Linked DNA regions of Homo sapiens: region 2 is linked to region 1. Evidence: promoter capture Hi-C in human tissues and cell types (Jung and others, 2019). All regions are on one chromosome and are shown on one strand. The core of a region is centred on a gene start or on the middle of the fragment in contact, and the rest is flanking DNA. Distances in the headings are between cores, read along the strand shown.

Region 1 (5,710 bases), core at 1,797-4,296:
ATTCTAATAAAATACCAGCAACATTATTACTTTTTTCTTTTTTTCTTTTTTTTTTTTTTGCAATTAGGCAAGCTGATTTAAAATTTTACATGGAAAGAGTAAACAACAATAGCCTGTTTATTAAAGAGCAGAATAACAAGTATGTCCTAAGAATATAAATGTTGGATATGGTATGATTAAGTGGGTGTGGCCACAGGAGTAAATGAGAACAAGGCTTGGAAAGAAGTTTATGCCATGAAGGGTCACAGGGGAAACACCAGGTTTTGGTTTGGTGTCAGAACACAGGAGCAAGGGGAAATCCTAGGCCAAAGCCTTTATTGGGATTTCTGTGAGAATCGCAAGGTAGAGCAGAGTAAACATTTAGGATTGGCTATTTTGAATACTTCTGGTGGGCTGTGGCTATAGATGCCCATCAAGGGGATCTCTCTTTAGTGCTCCTCCACTTTGCTGAGCATGCCTGTGTCATTGCTCTTACCACATTGTTTGGAAATTAATTGTAAACTGAATTTGTGCATGTTAATCCTTTCTTTCCAATTAGTTTGTAAACTTCAAAGGCATGGTATTTTTGATGTGAAAATTACATGAGATAACACAGATGAATTTCCTAGCATAATTTCAGTCTTCCCTGAGTCTGCTACTTTCTGCCTGAAACTTTGTATAAGTCACTTAAACTCTGTGAGCCTCAATTTCATCTTCTGTACAAGAGGCTGATATTAATACAAATATCATAATGCTGCTCTGAGAATGAAATGAGTTTGTGCTCGTAAAAATATGATTATAAATTAAATATTTCTCTCATTCCATTCTGCATCTAACTTAGTGGCCAGGCACATGGAAGGTATCATTTTAATGAATGTTTATGGAGGGAGTGGGTGAATCCTACAGGGTATATTTTGCTTGAAAGAAGGCACCCTTGTTGTGGGTGGGTGTTTTCTGTGGAGACAGAAATCATAGGAGGTCTCTGGGGAAGACAGACCTCCCAGGGACATATGAATGGTAGCACGGGGAAACTAATTCCCAGGAGCCCATGTAGGGGACGTTTTCCCCCCACTTCCCATGCTGTGTTATTTTTCACACAACAAAAGGGAAGTCTCTGAAGACTCCAGCAGTAGTGAAGAAGTCTATACTCCCTCCTGCACTGCTTCCTGAGGAATAGCTGACACAGAGGAGAACCGAACCTGGTCCTGTCAGCAAGCTGGTTTTCCAGGCTTTTCGTCTCCTCTGCCCAGTAAGGCATTTGTCTATCAATTCTGACTAACAAAACTTTCTGCAGTGATGGAAATGTTCTATACATATGTTGTCCAATATGGTAGCCAGTAGCCACATGTAGCTATTGAGCACTTGAAAAGTGGCAATTCTGATTAAATAACTGAGTTCTAAATTTTACTTAAAATTTAAATTGACCAATGTGGTTCAATTTAATAATGTTATATTTGTCTCTTTATCCTCAGCATCTGCACAGAGCCTGGCTCATACTCATCAAATGCATTTTCATTCATCACCCTATTTGTGTCTTAGAGCTACTCTTTGTGGTAGGCAGGACCTTTGTCTCAGTTTGTTGGAAGAGGAAACTGAGGCTCAGTAAGTTTAAGTGATTTGCCCAAGATTATAAAGCTATAACATCAGTCTGAGTAGAACCCACATCTTTCTCTTTATTTTTCCATCTCCCTATACTTAATGTAGTTCTTTTGTTCTTCTTAGCCCTTATTGACTCCTCCGACACCGAAATTCCCAAAACCCTCACAGCCTTTACATAAGTGTCATTAGGACTGTGGAAAGCACATATATATTCATCTTGATAGTTGTGTGGACATGGCTTGTGAATTTTAAACTGTTCAAATGTGAGAGATAATTCTGATAGCTATTTTCATGTAACTTTCTGTACAAGATTCTTATCCCTGATTTTAATGCAGATGAATGGACAGTTCCATGCATGTGGCCAGCATCTTACTTAGAAGGCCTTCCGGTCCGTCTCTGCATTTCTGCCTCAAGGCTTTCTCTCAAACTCTAGAAGTCTGCTCAGCCCTGGCAAGCATAACCAGGAAATGTGAGAGAGTTCAAGCTGGAAGGTGGAGAGCAACCCTCAACCAATGGAGACAGAAATTAGGAGACAAATGCCCCAGACTCTGTGTTCTTCAGTGGGACAACGGCAGGCACACATTCTACCCTGTTTTTCAGAGTCTGAAGCAAGATTAAAAATAGTTGTCTACTAAAGCAATCAGCTCAATAACACATTTTTCTTAGCGTTTTTCCCCCTTCCCTCTTTCACTCTCTCCACCTCATTTCCTTTCAGATTACCACCATTTTCCATTCAGCAGACATTGACTGAGATCCTACTTTGTGTCATGCACCACGCTGCACTATGGAGTATACAAAGATAAGAGAACAACCGTAGGTATCAGAGAGCTCATGGTCGAGAAGGAAATAATGCATAAAGCATTTGGAATAGAGGGAATATACAGGGGACTGCGGGAGGGCAGAGCTGGTCAGGACGGGTAATGTTCCAGCTTGGTTTTAGACGATAACGGCGTGTCACTACTGAAAGGTGGGAAACAGCAGCCCATATTTACTGAAAAATACGTCAGCAAAAGGATAAGTCTTTTCTGGGGTTGAGGGTTGCTGTCGCAGAGGGGCAAGGAGCCAGAACCCTTTGGGCCTCTGTGTGTTTGGGTTGGGGTGGGCACACAGTTGGTTTTCAGTGCATTTCAGTTGAAGACGAGTAACCCAGGCAAACCAAGGGGAGAAGCTTTGGGAAATCAAGAAACCTGTCCCAAGTCCCCAAAGTTGAGCACCAACCACAGAAAAGCCAGTTTAGCTAGTCTGGGCGGTCAGTACGAGGACCCCGGTCGCCGTCAGGAAAGCGCCATCCCTACAGACCTGGCCCCTGTGCTCTAGGGGTGGCGGAGCCTGCTCAGTTGCCAGGATGCGGTGGATCGGTTGCGGAGGAGCAGCGCCCCGGGGCCCAAGTCCCAGCTCAGGCCCGGGCTCGCGCCGCGGGGGCGGGGCCTTGGACGCACGCTCCTCCCAGGCGTCCCTCCCGCCCTCAGCCGCGCGCCGGCCACCCGCGCGCCTGCCGCCCGTTGCCCAGGCAACCGTCGTGCCGCGTCTTCCTGAGGTAGCTCCTGTCAGCCCACTGATCCCACCACCCGCTCCCTACTGCCCCGCGGTCTTCGCGTGAGCTCGGAGACTGAGGGACAACAAAAATGGCGGAGGGGAGCCAGTCGGCGCCTGAGGCAGGTCTGTGGGGGCGGCCGATCTGGGGAAGGCTGAGGCGGCCAGGCTGTCCTGGGTCTCAGGCAACAGGGGACTCGGGCATGGTCCTACTCCTGAGGAGGCGGTCCTGTATATTTGCGCGGTGGGTTATGACTTCAGGGTCAGGGGTCAAGGGTGGCGTGCACCCCTCTGAATGGCGGGCAGGGACCTCGAAGTCCGGGTGGTGGAGGGGAGTGTGGGTTAGTGTGCACACTTCTGACAGAACATGGGCCCGAAAGGGGCTGGGACCTGAGGGAAGAGACAGGATCTTAATCCTGGGATCACCTGTGGTGAAGGCTAATCCTAGGGCTAGGCTGTGTCATGGAAAGGGTGTACACTGCCCTGTGGGAGCATGGGAGAGATCCCTAAAGGGGCATGATTTGGGCTCGGGGTGGGAGTAGGAGGCTCTGACTCTAAAGAGGGAGGTATACGTGGAAGGTGTGTTACTTTAATATCAGACAGTGCCATGGAAGGGGGAGTTAGAGTATTTGTGTTTGGGGATGTGCAGTGTCCTCAGGGTCACTCCTGGTCACAGAGAAATTTATGCAAATAATTCTTGTATGGGTCCTTAAAAAGACAAGAGGCCTTGAGGGGATACCCGGAGCCCCAGTCCTTTAGGAGCCTACCAAAGGAGGCTGGAGCGTGAGTGTGAGTGTGTGTGGGTTCAATGATCTTGAAGGTCATTCAGAATCAAAGGAGTGCATGTCCACACTTCTGTGGGTAGAAGATAGCCTTTAAGGGACAGGAAGACTGACAGGAAGGGAGACCCAGGATCCTATTCCTGAGGGGACCCCTTGTGCATATGGCTGGGATTTGTGAGATACTGACTTTAAGTTTCTCACAGGGTCATAGAAGAAAGCAAAGGTTTTTACAGTTTTGAGTATGTGGGAGGGAGTTTGCCTCTAAATGAGGCTGACCACTGAAGAACTGGATGTTACGGGATGGCATGGGTGTGTGGGTAGAAAAGAAGTGGCTTTGGGAATATGTGTGTGATGGGTGTTGGCAGTGGTATACATAACCTTGTATATATGTCCTGATCAGGTATTATCATTACAAGAGTGATCCACTTGAATTACTTTGGTCCTGGTGTGTGTGTGTGTGTGTGTGTGTGTGTGTGTGTGTGTGTGTGTGTGGTTATGGTACATACACACCACACCCCAGAAACTGGAACTGAAAACTATGACACCCTCAGAAATAAGTTCGAGGAACCATTATGTCTCAAGGCCTTCATTATTTCTCTTTCTTTCATGGCACCTCTGTTTTATTGAGTAGCTCCTCTACTCATTTTATAGTTTTAGCTCCCTCATAACTTGAACAGGCTTATTCCTTTATTCATTCATCCACTCAACAAATATCGAGTGCTAACTATATGCCTGGCAATAAGTTAGGCATTGGAAATTCCCTGCTTTGGATGAGCTTACCTTGTTCTTCTTTTCCTTTTTTTCTCATAGCATTTATTGCCTTTGAACATACTATTTAATTTACTTGCTTGTATTGCTTATTTCCTGTCTCCTTCCACTACAATGTAAGCTCTACAAGGGCATTGTTTTATCAATACCACATGTCTAGAACTTTTCTAAGTGTATAGTATGTTCTCAATAAAGATTTCTTAAATGAATAACTGAATTACTGATATTGTCTGGAAGTGATATTTTAGCTGACATATGATAGGGATTGGATAATTGAAAAAAAGGGCAAAGAGTGGTCGAGGCAGCAGGAAAACCATGTGCAAAGAACCCAAGCAGGTGGAAACATGTTATGCTGTGTTTGAGGAACTGAAAGGAGACAAGTGTGGGTACATGTGGGGCAATGGGAAGAGAGAAGAGGTACGCTGAAGCCAGATCTTCCAGTACTTTGTAGAATATGATATGAATTTGGGTCAGAAATCCTAAGAATAATGGGAAGCCATTGAAGGCTTTTAAGTGGGAGCATGCCATGATTAGAATAATTAAAAAATAACTCTGGCTACAATGTGGAGAGTACAGAGGATACAAGAGTGGATATAGGATATACTCTCCACCAGCTACATTGAGGAGAGTACAGAGGATACAAGAATGCATATAGAGAGACCTTAGAAGGTAGCAGTGGAGATGAAGAGAAGGAATTGAGAAATACTTAGGAGATAAAATTAATAGGACTTAGTGAAATATGAGGATGATGGAGAAGGAAGTATCGAAGACTACTTCTCATTTTCTAATTTGTTCAACTGGATAGTTAGTGGTGCCATTATTGGGATAGGGAGCATTGGAAGGGGCCTTGGGTAGGTGTGAGAGGAAAGATCATTAATTTGGTTTTAGATAAGTGGAGATTGAGGTATCTTTAGGACATCCAGATAAGCAGAGAGATTGACAAGGCAGTTGAATTTACAAGAAAAGTGTAAACTGGCATAGAGATAATTATTTTGACATAGAAATAATTACTCAAGCCATGGGTGTGGATGAAATTGCCTAGAGGGAGA
Region 2 (5,710 bases), core at 1,423-3,922, 580 kb before region 1:
GTTGGATACATCTTGACATACAAATACACAGATTAAAAAGATCATCAGTGCAGTGTAGTCAGTGCTAATATCCGGTAGCATTCCCAAATCTGGATGAAATTACATCAGTGTCTTGTGAGGACGATGACAAGCTTGAGATATGGTTTTTAAAAAATGTCTCATATTAATTGTTCTTCTTAAAACACAAGAGAATTGTATTTTACAAACTGAGTGAATAAAAGATAAAAACAGTAAAGCTGTAGTTTGAATCTCGTTCACTTGTGTTACTGGGTGTGTCACATGCAGAGCAAGGAGTCTGCAGGTGACATAACCAAATCTCCTTAGTGATGTATGAAGATCATAGCCCATTAGGGCTAGAAGGGATCTGAGAGGCCATTTAGTTGGTCGTACCTATATTTTACAAAAGGAGATGTTAAGACTCTTGGTTACTGACCCAAGGTCCCATAACAGGTTTTATAGCTTCCAATACTCTTAAAATGTCTTATTCTTTGTCATTTATAATTAGAAAAAAAGACAGACTGCAAGCATGTATTTGGGGAGGGTTAAAATTTGGCTATAAAATAAAAAATACTTTGAAGAACTAATTCATATGTATATGAATATATGTATATATGAATATATGTATACATATGAATATATATGTGTATATATGAATATATGTGTGTATATGAATATATATAGTGTGTGTGTGTATATATATATATATGAATATATATGTATTGTTTGAGACTGAGTCTCACCCAGGCTGGAGTGCAGCGGCTCAATCTCAGCTCACTGCAACCTCTGCCTCCCGGGTTCAAACAGTTCTCCTGCCTCAGCCTCCCGAGTGCCTGAGAGTACAGGCTCCCGCCACCATGCCGAGCTAGTTTTTGTATTTTTAGTAGAGACGGGGTTTCACCACGTTGGTCAGGCTGGTCTCGAACTGCTGGCCTCAAGTGATCTGCCCTCCTTGGCCTCCCAAAGTGCTGGAATTACAGGTGTCTCACACCGAGCCACCACGCCCAGCCTACTAATTCATATTTTTAAAGAAAGAAGTATTAAGAATGGCCTTAAATGCTCTGAGGACCAAGCTTAACATGATAATACTGTGTTTTACTAACAACTTGTTAGACATAGCCAGAGATCAGTCATGATGGTTTACTGGAGTTTTCCTTTGCATATTGTCCTAGTATTTTATTTTCATGTGAAGAATAACATAAAGAATAATACAAAGAAAATACTATATGCTTTGTTTATTGTGTAAAGAAGAAACATCGAAAAGATTCTAAGATTTTGAAAGAGCTTTTTTGTCTTCTCAGTTGTTTCAAGTAATAGTTGTCATTATTCATGAAAATTAGTTGCATATGTACACATTACATAGTTCAGCAGTTCACAGCTTTTTGGTCTCAGGATCCTTTTGCACTTGTAAAGAAATCATCAAAGACCCCAGAGAGCTTTTGTTTATGTGGATTATATTCATTGACATTTACCATTCTAAAAATTAATATTGAAGAAAATAATATTTAAGATAACAAGTGAATTACATGTTAATATAAATAGCATTTTTATACAAAGTAATTATATTTTCTAAAAATTCAGTAAGTAAAGTGACACTGTTTTTATACTTTTACAAATCTCTTTAATGTCTGTCTTAATAGAAGACAACTGGATTTTCGTGTCTTCCTTCTTCTGCATTTAACCTGTTGTAATGAATTTTTTTGATTGAAAATATGAAGAAAATCTGACCTCCTACAGATCTATAGTTGGAAAAGGGAGGAGTATTTTAATAGTCTTTTCAAATAATTATAGATATTATTCTTTGATACTAAACTAGAACTTGAGAAGTGGTAGTTTCCTAAAGGTTAGTCTTATTTTTTTTATTTTAATTTTTTTGTGTGTGTATATGTGGCAAGGAGCTTTCTCGGGTAAAGCTAAATGTTACTTTCAATGTAGAATCTGAAGCCCTACCACTATACATTTTGTATTAATACTTTGTCACAGTAAGATACATTGGTCTGCCTCACAGTTTGAATTAAACCTTTATCCATACATAATTTTATAACATCATGCAATCACTGTTCATTTGGAGAATATTGGTCTTGTGAGTTATGCAGATTTTCTAAATGTTGACACATTTCATTACATGATATAAAAAGTCACATCTATTATATTAATATAACCACTGAACGCATCACAAAGGCTTTAAGCATTGAGAAGCTGTCAAGCTCATGATGGCTGATAGTTTTTAAAACTCTTAATTTTTACATGAAAACTCAAATTTTGTCATTGGCAATTAATACTGTCAGACCTGTTCCTTGAAGTAGTAGTCTCACTTCATTCATTTTGGAGAAAATGTTCAGCAATTAGGGATACTCAATCACAGGTTGAGTATCCGTAATCTGAAAATCTGAAACTTTTTAAGCAGCAACATGATGTTAAAAGGAAATGCTCATTGGAGCATTTCAGATTTTGGATTTTTAGATTTGAGATGCTCAACTGTTAGGTATATATGATGCCAATATTCCAAAACCCAAAACAGTTCTAAGTCTGAAACACCTCTGGTCCCAAGCATTTTAAATAAGGGATACTTGTCTAAATACCAAATCCAAATAACCACAGTTTGTCTGCCCATCATTTGTTTAAGTAGTAATGGTGTTTCTGAAAAAAAGTGGCTGATTCAGCATATAACTGAAACACACATGCTTTTTCTTCAACCCATCCATTATACTTTGGTATGCTGTAGAAGTCCTTTATACATACTTCCCATTTGTCACATAGAATATTAAAAGACATGTATTAAGAGTCAAAATTTACTTAATAAATAAATTAAATTACTTAATAATTTTTACTGATTTAACAGGGACATTATTAAATGAAACTGCCATTTTTACAGTGAGTAAATGGAACTGGAGATTTTTAACAGCTTGGTGTTACTACCTTAATTTGTGCTGAAGTACCAGCAGATTTGCCTACCATTGCTTTTTTTAACATCAGTATAAAAACACTGTGGCCAGGTGTGGTGGCTTAGGCCTGTAATCCCAGCACTTTGGGAGGCTGAGGTGGGCAGATCACCTGAGGTCAGGAGTTCAAGACCAGCCTGGCCAACGTGTTAAAACCCCGTCTCTACAAAGATACAAAAATTAGCCAGGCATGGTGGCACACACCTGTAATCCCAGCTGCTTCGGAGGCTGAAGCAGGAGAATCACTCGAACCTGGGAGGTGGAGGTTGCAGTGAGCTGAGATCGTACCACTGCACTCCAGCCTGGGTGACAGAGCGAGGTTCCCTCTCAAGAAAATAAATAAATAAATACAACACAGTGAAAAAGTCTAATGCCATTTAAGTATTATTATGAAATAATTTTGACCTTATGGAACTACTGAAAGAATCTCAAGAACCCTGTGCCTGTAGTACATACTTTGAGAATCACATAGTATGTTCTTTTTTTTTTGAGACGGAGTTTCACTCTTGTTGTCCAGGTTGGAGTGCAATGGCACAATCTCAGCTTACTGCAACCTCCACTTCCCAGGTTCAAGCAATTCTCCTGCCTCAGCCTCCCAAGTAGCTGGGATTACAAGCATGAACCACCATGCCCGGCTAATTTTTTGTATTTAGTAGAAATGGGATTTCACCATGTTGGTCAGGCTGGTCTCGAATTCTTGACCTCAGGTGATCCACTCGCCTCAGCCTCCCAAAGTGCTGAGATTACAGGCGTGAGCCACCGCGCCCAGCACATGAGCCATTGCGCCCAGCACAGTATGTTCTTAACACTAAATACTGTTTGTAAGAAGAAAAGAAAAAACTTCAAATGGACTTTGAGTATTCACTCACTGATAGAATATCTACTATGTAGCAAGTGTATTCTCATTTAAGCCATCCTCACAGAAAGCCTGTTAGGAAAGGTCATGTTAATTTTACAGAACAGAAAACTTAGCCTTTTTTTTTTTTTTTTTTTTTTTAAAGACAGGTTCTTGCTTTATCACCCAGGCTAGAATGCAGTGGCATGATCTCAGTTCTCTGCAGCCTTGACCTCCTGGGCTCAAGCAATCCTCCCATCTCAGCCTCCCTAGTAGCTGGACTATGGGTGTGTTCCACCATGCCCAGCTAATTGGTTTTTCTTTTTTTGGAGACAGGGTCTCACTCTGTCACCCAAGCTGGAGTACAGTGGCATGATCACAGCTCACTGCAGCCTTAACCACCTGGGCTCAAGTGATCCTCCTGCCTCAGCAACCCAAGTAGCAAGGACTACAGGCGTGCACCCCCATACCCAGCTAATCTTTTGTTTATGTTTTTAGAGACAAGATCTCACTATGTTGCCCAAGCTGGTCTTGAACTCCTGAGCTCAGGCTATCCTCCTGACTCAGCCTTGCAAAGTGCTGGAATTACAGGCATGAGCCACCACGCCCAGCCAGGAAACTTAGTTTCGAGATGGAAAATATTGATTCGAGTGAATAGTAGAAGTGAATTTGAACTCAGGACACTCTGAGTTTAAAAGTCCATTCTACACTTAGCCGTCTCCTGTTACTAAATAGAAAAAGTTCCTTTAGGGATCAACAAGAATTTGTTAAGTGCCTGCCTTTTCCATGGATTACTTTTTAACAGAACAAATTTACTTAATTTTGTTCATTTTTCTTCATGTCTTGTCAAAAAATGATTTACCATCCTTATATTTCAATCATTGACAGCTGACAAGAACAATTAAATTCTTGCCAACTATAGCTATTTTTTCCTTAAGATGTGGCCTTAAAAATATAAATACTGTAAAATAATAATTATTTTTGTGAAAAAGGGTTTTCTTTGGATAATTTAAATGCATAAACTTTTTGTGTTGATGTAGTATAATTGTCAAATTATTTAATTGGACACATATACTTAAAATAATGTTAATATTATATAATGTTAATTTACAAATACTGCTTTTGTAGCTACCCTCATATTTCATGATATTTATTCAAATTCTATGGGCATTTTTTTATATATAAGCATCATCATCACCACTAGGGTCACTTTTTTTTTTCTTTTTGGTTGACATTGTAAAGACTAAATAATTGAATTGAATAAGATAACTACTCTTGTGTTAATTAAGGAACAGGCTAACTTAGAAAGACCCCAGAATATAAGGTGACAGTGGGCTTCTCTCATGGAACAGTCTAGGTGAGGAAGGTGTTTCTGCTAAAGTCATGTTTTCTAGAGTCCATCCTTTTCGCTGGACATTTTATCTCAAGCCACAGATATTCTTCACAGACTAGTAAAAAGTAATGTTTGTTGAGCCACCAACTGTGTGCTAGGCATTTTCTCATTGCTTTACCCATAAACTCAACCTTATTATCCCTACGCTGTGGAGAAAGTAATAATCAAATACTATCCCTATCTAGGTGTCATTAAGGACAGTTGTAATTTTTTCATTTGCTTATTTTTTGTTTTGTTTTGGTTTCATTTGTCCTATGTATGTATATTCATCATCTTCCCAAGACATTTTTCAAAGTATCTTTTAAAGACAGGTTTATAAGGACTTTTAATACTTGCAATTGTGAGATTATACAGAGCTCTAGGAATAATCATGTCTTATCATTGTCTTCTTTATTAACCAGTTTTGACAAGTAAACTCTGGGAGAACCTGAAGCATCATTGACTCAGGTTATTTAAGGCTAATCTGTCGAAACAGTGTATTGAAAATGAAGTATTTGAGGAAGCACCCTGTAATAGGAGAACTTTTGTAACTACTCAAATATA

Evidence for each region. Contacts are between HindIII fragments. The study calls those that stand out against the background at their distance.
Region 2: a contact is called between a fragment that was not itself captured here and the fragment with the promoter of AGBL4 in region 1, in 1 of the 25 tissues and cell types used here (H1 embryonic stem cells).

Annotation. Positions count from the first base shown.
Region 1 is chr1:50,021,290-50,026,999 of GRCh38, reverse strand. It overlaps AGBL4 (AGBL carboxypeptidase 4), which reads left to right and starts at 3,046. Exons shown (of 14, transcript NM_032785.4): 1 at 3,046-3,237. The coding sequence starts at 3,204. It overlaps LOC105378708 (a long non-coding RNA gene), which reads right to left and starts at 2,979. Exons shown (of 3, transcript XR_947311.3): 1 at 2,878-2,979. The HindIII fragment of the contact is 7,609 bases long and covers 1-5,710 here.
Region 2 is chr1:50,596,689-50,602,398 of GRCh38, reverse strand. All of the region lies in intron 8 of FAF1 (Fas associated factor 1), which reads left to right. Among named protein-coding and RNA genes, the nearest start is that of FAF1-AS1, 160 kb to the right of the region's middle. The HindIII fragment of the contact is 4,142 bases long and covers 602-4,743 here.